2 separate regions of the Homo sapiens genome follow, and region 2 is linked to region 1. Evidence: promoter capture Hi-C in 16 types of primary human blood cells and fetal thymus (Javierre and others, 2016). All regions are on one chromosome and are shown on one strand. Each heading gives the region's core, a stretch centred on a gene start or on the middle of the fragment in contact. The rest is flanking DNA. Distances are from core to core; before and after follow the strand shown. Region 1 holds the start of LINC03033 (long intergenic non-protein coding RNA 3033). Region 2 overlaps LINC03033 (long intergenic non-protein coding RNA 3033).

Evidence for each region. Contacts are between HindIII fragments. The CHiCAGO score rates a contact against its expected background, and 5 or more counts as called.
Region 2: a contact is called between a fragment that was not itself captured here and the fragment with the promoter of LINC03033 in region 1, in 11 of 17 cell types (neutrophils, activated CD4 T cells, naive B cells and 8 more). The highest score is 16.9, in neutrophils.

Annotation. Positions count from the first base shown.
Region 1 is chr14:61,568,448-61,572,724 of GRCh38, reverse strand. LINC03033 (long intergenic non-protein coding RNA 3033) reads right to left here and starts at 2,185. Exons shown (of 3, transcript NR_039985.1): 1 at 1,965-2,185. LINC01303 (long intergenic non-protein coding RNA 1303) reads left to right here and starts at 2,072. Exons shown (of 5, transcript NR_110416.1): 1 at 2,072-2,239; 2 at 3,048-3,181. RefSeq lists silencers at 2,895-3,087, 3,828-3,987, 4,068-4,137 and enhancers at 3,479-3,978, 3,979-4,277. The HindIII fragment of the contact is 753 bases long and covers 1,766-2,518 here.
Region 2 is chr14:61,610,639-61,614,915 of GRCh38, reverse strand. All of the region lies in intron 1 of LINC03033 (long intergenic non-protein coding RNA 3033), which reads right to left. Among named protein-coding and RNA genes, the nearest start is that of LINC01303, 42 kb to the right of the region's middle. The HindIII fragment of the contact is 7,886 bases long and covers 1-4,277 here.

The DNA of each region.
Region 1 (4,277 bases), core at 936-3,435:
CTATTCTTTTGCTTCAGGGCCTTTATCACAATTGATAATTATATACTTACTTTTACTTATTGAATTAATTCCCAGTCTCTCTCAGTAGATTACATGCAGTGTCTGTTTCACTTGCCATTGTATCTCTAATGCCTACTACAAGTGCCTGGCATGTAGCAGACACAACTGCTTGTGAATGAATGAATGGTCTCAGTGATTCTGTAAGGATGAAGGTGATGTAGAGTAGTAGATGGCAGCTCTACTCTGGAAGTCCAGAATACTGCTCTGATTCACACCTGCAAGCCTTATTGGTCAATGACTACTGATATTCCAGCCACCCAAACAACTGCTTTCGGAGAAGCATTAATACCTGCGAATAAAACAAATCTATTCGTTTCATACATTTGGTTCAGAACACTAGGAGAATTTGAGAAGAGACGAGCCAGCCCCAAGCTGTCCTTGTTTCTTTTATTAAGAATAGGCCATGATTTGAGCACATTCTACTACTTGCCTCACTTCAGCCTATTGATGGGGGAAAAGTGAGAGTCTGTGTGTGGGGACTCTGGCTTGGCAGTGAGATCTAACACAGAAAGATCCTGAAGAAATATGCTGACAATGGGGTTTTATCTCTTCAATGCACTGGAGACAAAATCCCTGCTTTTAAAAACAACACTCATACAGAGCCAAGGATGTCCCAGAGTGAACAGTCCTAACCCTTTCTCAGCCTGCCTAAGAGCTCGTTGGTTTCAGAAGGATGAGCCAAGGACTGCTACTTAGAGACTACTGTCTAGGTCAACCCAACTGGCATAAGTAAAGCACCTACTGTTTATAGTAGGAGGCTGCAAGATAACAGGAGATGCAGACTATTGAAGGCTACTGATCTATCTGTGTAGACAGGCAAGAATAAAACAACTGGAGAAGAAATCCAGGATTACACAAAAAGAAGAGCGTGATGGTATGGTAGACTACTCCAGAACAGTGAATTTCCCCTGCATTAAGGATGAGATCCCTATGAATTGGGATCATTCAGGAAGTCTTCTTGGAGAAGAAAAGTTTGAGCATATGGGGAAAAAAAGTTGGATTGGCAAAGAGCTGAGCTGTCAGTAGCTGGGTCCTTAGTAAGTAGGCTGCATGGAGCTGGGAGTTATGCTAAAGGAGTTGTAATTTGGGATGCCTCTAATTAACCATTTTGGGAAAAATATAATAAATCCCTTTGTAGCATCTATAATAAACTGCCCAATATCTATGTGGTGGGGAAAAAGTTTTATTCTACGTTTCACGTGGATGGTGATAACACTAGGTAATCTCAGCATCTTTCTTATTCTCTTGCTAATCCAGGATTCTAAGTAATAATCACTTTGTTCTACAACCTGAATCTAGCCCTTGTACTGTGCAGTTTTTTTCTACACTTATTTTTCCTGTTGTCTGAATCAATCTCCATGGAAGCATAAGTTTTACTGAGTTTCAACCAGCTGTGTCCACCGAGGTAAAGATGGTAAAAATAAAAGGCACAGGGCATATATACCACAGCAGCAGTTACTTCCCACAAGGAACCAGAGATTGGAAGTGAAGCTAAAACATTTTCAGCTACGATAGCATCTCTTTCAAGGTGAGCCATTTCCCCAGGGAGAGTTTCCAGCTCTTAGCAAAGGCAGAACAATAAAACATCAAGGATGTCTTTCTAAGGCTGCAAACAGAATAGCCAATACCTTGAAGCTGATCTGCTTCAGAGTCCTTTAAAAGCCAGGACAGCAACAAAGTGCCCACATTACATTTTCTACAAGCTTGCTAAGCATCTCTTTTCCTAAACCACAAAACCCGAGACATTTCTACAGAACAGGCAGAAAGGGAAGTCCTGGGAGATCAGGGCCCTGTCTCAGCAGGCATCACTCCAGCCTGTCTTTTCCCGAGTGGTTTTCTGCACTTCTCTTCCATCTTTTCCCCTCTGTCCCACACTGGAAGTCACTAGTCTGTGCCCTCCTTACCTCCCATGGTTTCTGCACCTTCATTTCCAAAGGCAAGTGAAAACAGTGCCAGGCTGCGCACATGGGTTACTCCAGGGACTTCTCTTCCCGTTTCCCCTAAAGCATTTGACAGTTAGATCTTGGAACTGAGTCCAGCAGCACTGAGGTCAGAGAGATGGCTAAAGCTAAAAGCAAACTGGATGCTGTTCAGGAGGTTCTCCTTTGTCATTTTTATCTCCAAATAGAAGACCTCTGTTTTCCCAGAAGATTAAATAGTAGAAAAGAAGTAGCCCAAGGTGGGTGACTCTGCAAACAGGTGGGTGAGGTCTCTAGTTGAGTGAGGGGGTGTCTGTGGGTTGTGGGTTCTTCTTATGAGCAGAGCTTGGAGGAATTTGTTCTATTTGTTGTGGTTTTCCCAGGGGGAAGTCGGGGGTGGCTGGGACTCTAATGATCATTATCAGAAGACTTTGGATTAGGCCTCTGAAACTTTAAGATGTGGATCCTCTCGCAATCATGTTAAAATGCAGATCTCCTTTCAATAGGTCTGGGACAGAGCCTGGCTTTTCTATAAAGCTTCTGGTGATGGGATGTCGCTGGTTCTCAGCCACAATTTGAGTAGCAAGAGGTTAGCTTTTCTACTTACTGCCTTCATATCCCCAGTTGGGCTATGTCGTTTTATCAAAACAATGTGGTAAGAGTGAGCGCCAATTACTAGCCTGTTGAATCATCCATTGTTAGAGCTGTTTCTTTGAGGTACATTTAAGAGGCCCCTCCCTGTGGTTCCCCATTGCACAAGAAGCCCATTTGCCAGGCAATACCTTGGGCAAGCAAGCCACTGTGCAAAATTGCATTGGCTCTTCCTGCTGCCAGCCAGGCGGCTGCTGGTTGACGTTGGAGTTGTACAGTTTATGTGATAGTGATGACAGCGCTGGCTCTGAAGGGTACTGAAGATTTTGAAGGGGTACTTCGCTGCAGCAGCTTCACCTCTCACTTTTGTTTACCCACCCCCGAGGCTTGTGGGAGAGAAGGATCAGGCAGAGCTCTGCACGTGCCATGCCAGGGGTGGAGGAATTATATTTTTATTTTTTGCTTTCTCTGCTACAGGACATACCATGCCTTTTACAGATATTTATAGGACAATTTCCCTCCTGAGAGTGCCCAAGCATGGGGGATGGTGAGGAAGATGACTGAAGGAGAAAGCAGGAAAAGGGGGTGTCTGCATGTATGAGGATTGGAAGGTGGGGAAAACCCTTCGTGTTTGGTTCAGCCTTCAAGAAAGAGGAGGGGTTGACTAGATTACAGATGTTAAACCAGGGGTCTGTGGTTCAAACCAGCAACTCTCTGCCCTTGTAAGCTGTATCTGGCTGGTGTGTTAATTTGTCTAGGGTAAGAGCCCCTAGGTTTCAACAGATTGTCCTAGAGTCAATGATACACAAAAGGTTAATCAGCCTCATTTCCAATCAGGATCATCTGCAAGTCCCTCCCAGAGCAGATATTTGGAGCACTAGGCTTCTAGAAGCAGCAGACATCAAGTTCGGGCCATGGGATTAGGGTGGACAGGGCAGCCACTTGGAATCATTTTCTACCAGAGGCAGAAGAGGCTCAGCTAGCAACAGCCCCATTTTACAGAGCAGAAGCCGAGCTGCAGTCAATTCAGTGATTCCTCCTAAAGTAGGGAGTCAGAAGCCGAGCCTGGACTGGAACCTCGGCCTCCTAGCACACAGAGCACAGGTCTACATTGGGGAAAAGCCCCTTCAATCTGGCAGTTGCCTGGAAAGCGCAAGACATTTGCGGCCAGAGCGCCAGGAGCCCAGCTGGTTATTTCTAGCTTCCTGAATGTCAAAAATACAGGCCGCTTCTCAAAGCAGCCTCCACTTGTCAGACCAAATCAAGGCATCAGCGCGTCAAGCAGGCGAATCCTCTGCCCCAGGCACCAGCCTGGGGGCGCACGCCCTGCCTCCGCCCCGCCCCACACGGCGCACCTGACCGGTTCCCGCGGTGCGCCTAACCGCGGGCGGGCGAGCGCTGCACCCACGCACCCGGGCGTCGCTCCCACCTGCACCCCGGCGTCACGCCTGAGCGCAATCTGCAGCCTTCACCCACCTGGGCGGCTGCCTGGCTTTGTTTAGAGTTGGAGTCAGCCCGGCAGCCTGCCTTGGCCGAGTGTGACTAGGGAGCTGGTCTCTGACCCTAGCGGCAGATTGGGCAGGACACACTGCCTTCTCTCTGGTCTCTTTTGGAATCTCCCACTTTCACCTGCTTTTCTTCTTAGCAAAACTGCCACCCCTGCCCCTACCCCAATTCCTCGATAGATCTAAATCAACGGGCTTGTTT
Region 2 (4,277 bases), core at 951-3,450, 42 kb before region 1:
GCTCACCTCCAGCTGTGCGGCCCAGTCCCTAACAGGCCACGGACTGTACTGCTCCTTGGCCTGAGGGTTGGGAACCCCTGCCCTATGTAACCAACTTCAGCCCCTTGGCGGCTATATCACCTCTGTGGAGATTATGTGGCCCAGAACCAAACCAAGACAAGGCAAATAGTTTATGAAGAAAATGCTGGAAGGGGAGTGGGAAAGTGAGACAGGGACAGAAAGGAAGCCAAGATAGAGGAAGTTGAGCAGGTTGCCACTGCAGGCAGCTGGAGTCCAGTCTCGCTGGGGTTCATGGAACCAGGATGAAACACCCACCTCCAGGACACCTTACCTAAGGGGCCAGGTATATACCCAGAAATTCCCATCCGTCATTGGGTGAGGGTTGCTCCCAGGGGAAGAGGCATTCTCCGGCCATTTTATTTTGTCCATGCTTGGGCAGAATGGGCCATAGAGGACAGAGAAAGCCCTCAGGCAGGGTCATGGGGGCTGGCAGCAGCCTGAGCTGTTAACTCAGGGCACAAACAACGATAAGTGCTGGAGATGTGGTGGGGGGCACTGATGCTGCGCTATTTTTAATGTTTCCTTCTATTGCATGGTCCCACGATATGCTGTTTTTACATAGCTATAATCATAACTATTAGAGATAGGATTTTGTACTGTACTTTTTTCACTTGAAGCATTTTTTCAGGTTGATCCAGTTTTCATAATTATAAGTTTTAAAGGCTGCATAATTTCACCTCATGTGCATATACCATAATTCCCATAACTATTTCTCCATTGCTAAACATTTTGTTTATTTCCATTTTTCCTGCTGTTATAAATAAATTGCTAGGGGAAAAAAAAAAACCCTGGAAGGCACAAATTAAAACACAGCAAATTGTCTTAAGTGATAGAATTATAGGTATTTTTAAAATTCTGTCTACTTTCCTATAATTGCTTTTAAAACAGGAAAAATAACAGTTTTATGCACTAATTTGGTTAGCCTAAATAGCACCCAGTTGTTCAATCAAACACTAATCTAGATGTTGCTGTGAAGGTATTTTATAGTTGTGATTAATGCCTACAATCAGTTAACTTTATGTAAAAGAGATTATCCTTGATAATATGGGTGGGTTTGATCTAATCAGTTGAAAGGCCTTAAGAGCAGAACTGAGGTTTACTTGAAGGAGAAGAAATTCTGCCTTTGACTATAGCCTCAGATCTAACCTGAGCTTCCAGCCTGTCCTTCCTGATGATCTGCTCTATGAATTTTGGGCTTACCTAGCCATCTCCCACAATCACATAAGCCAATTCTTTGCAGTAAATCTTTTTTTAATATATTATCTGGCAGAACACTTAATGATTCAATAAGTTCTCACTGCTCTCCGTCAAGATACTGCAAAAAACGTCTTAAAGCATAGAGATGTTTTTTCTTATTTTGCATTTTTTTTCTTTCCAGGATTGAGACTTCTGGAAGTGGCATGAACATATTTAATTAACATGTACATTCTTTATTATAAACCCCAAACAGTTGGTATAGGGAACCCAGAGCCAAATTAAAGAGTGAGCCAGATGGGGATGTAATGAGGTATCAGTCTAAAATGGGTCTTGAAACATCTCTGAAAATATAAGAAGATAGAGAAAACTGAGTTCAACAGGAGCCCTCTCAGAGAGAGTACTGTTTGTGATTATAAGGATAATTTAGCAAATTCCTTGGGCTGGGGCAACAAGACTTCCAAAGAGAATACTTAAAAAAAAAAAAAAGTTTCTGACTGGGTGTGGTGGCTCATGCCTGTATTCCCAGCACTCTGGGAGGCCAAGGCGGGCGGATCACCAGAGGTCAGGAGTTCGAGACCAGCCTGACCAACATGGTGAAACCCTGTCTGTGCTAAAAATACAAAAATTAGCCGGGTGTGGTGGCATACTCCTGTAATCCCAGTCACTTGGGAGGCTGAGGCAGGAGAATTGCTTGAACCCAGGAGGTGGAGGTTGTAGTGAGCCGAGATTGTGCCACTACACTCCAGCCTGGGCAACAAAGTAAGACTCTATCTAAAAAAAAAAAAAAGGGTTTCTAAACTCCCCTCTAAAAGTGGTGAATCCAATTAACTATAGGAGCTTTTTCTTCGTTGGACTGTTCCAGTTTGGGACCAGAGCTGAACTGCAAGGGACAACCAAGGAGAGGCAAACCTCTACTACAATGGTCAGTTTATCCCCATGAAGCCCTTTGCCTCGCCTCTAAGAAAAATTTTAAAAAATATTTAAACAAATGTCTGTTGAATGAAGCGTCAAAACAGTAATCTAGTTGGGTTGCCCACTTATCTAGGCCATCCCTATGGACCTCAAATTGATATCTGAATTAAATTTATTAACCACATGCAGTGTATGTTTACTGTCTTGAAACAGTAAGGGGCAAATCTTATGACATTTTTAGAGTTTGGAGTAGAGACAGTTTGCATAATGGTGGGAATATGAGATGCCTAAATCCCAGAAGATCCCATAAATGGTGTGGGGTTTCAAGAGCTGTTTTCCAATTATTCAAAGAATGTATTTTGAGTACCAGGCATTATACCAAGTGCTATGGGTACAAAAGTGAGAGAGACAGTATGGACGGTCCTGACAGAGACTGGGGGAAAGTCAGCAGTAATTGCATAGTGATTACATGTATAATTACCTAATTGTAAGCACAGTAAAGGAAACATATATGCTGCTATGAGGACATACAATACAATGAATAGACTTACACATGTCAGAATGGTAGAAGCAGCTTTGCAGAAGCAGGAGATGTTTGGTGGGACTGATGATGAAGCTGCCTTTCCTAAGCTGTATGTGAGTCCCTGAATTAGGTTGGGCATGTGTTTGTGAGCGTGTGAGTAAGTGTGTGTGTGTGGAGGGGGTGGGAGGGAAGAGCAGATAGGAGATAGGCTGAAGAAGTTAGTGCCTGTGGCTATTCATCTTGGTATTTAGAAAGACCATCTAATCATCTCTTAGCAAAACAGCAGAAGGAAGACACAGCAAATACACTAAAAATATGAGTAGCTTTCCAGTGCCTCAAATGGTCCTGGGTCCTGAGTAGGTGCTTACTGAAGACTAAGTGAGGGAAAAATTGCCCAGGTGCTGCAGTATGTGCCAGGCACTATAATACAGTGCTTTACACAAACTTGATCTTCCCATGATGAAGTCATTATCCCAATAGAAATATGGGGAAGCCCCAGTCTAGAGATTTTGAAAAGCTAGCTCCAAGTTATAGAACCTAACATAAAAGCTAGATGTTTGCTAGAGCTACAGTGGAAATAAGAATGCAATCAGACTGGGTGCAGTGGCTCACGCCTGTAATCCCGGCACTTTGGGAGGCTCAGGTGGGGGGATTGCTTGAGGCCAGGAGTTCGAGACCAGCACGGATCACTTGAAGCCAGGAGTTTGAGACCAGCCTGGCCAACACAGTGAAACCCTGTCTCTACCAAAAAAATACAAAAATTAGCTGGGCGTGGTGATGCACCCCTGTAGTCCCAGCTACTTGGGAGGCTGAGGCAGGACAATGAATCACTTGAACCTGGGAGGTGGAGGCTGCAGTGAGCCGAGATCATACCACTACACCCCAGCCTGGGCAACAGAGTGAGAATCTGTCTCAAAACAAAAACAAAAACAAAACACAGAGATCCTCTGGTTTTTGTCTTGCTGGATCTACTAAGATCTGGCCAGGGTGGTCATGACAGGTTAGTATGAGATATGCTTTGACAAGTTAGAAGATATCGCTGACATTTCCAGTAAGGCTGCTGTGCTACATGTTATAGTGCTTTTGTTTGTCTGTGGTACACAATTATCTTGGGTTTCAGAATTCATCCTCAAAGTATTCCTCTGAATTAGGAATTCCAGTAAGAGTTACTGGCCGCAAATGACAGACACTGACTCTGGTTAACTTCAGCAGAGAAATTCACTAGAAGGATATCTGGGAGCCCAAATAATCAATGTCAAGCCCAGAGAATCAGGCTTGACAAACAGAAACCAGGGTGGCTTGGTTACAAACTAACAGCCAAAATCACAGTAAAGGAAGGGTCTGGTTAAACATCGCTGCTGCTGAACACCATACAGCACTCCTGGCACCATCGCCAGTCCCAGGAGAAAGGATTCCAAGATATCCTTGCACCTTCGAGTCACCTACTCCAGATTCAAAATTCCAGGTGGAATTCTGTCAATAGGAGCCCTCTCTGAGAGAATGAATCACTTGAACCTGGGAGACGGAGGCTGCAGTGAGCCAAGATCATACCACGACACCCCAGCCTGGGCAACAGAGTGAGACT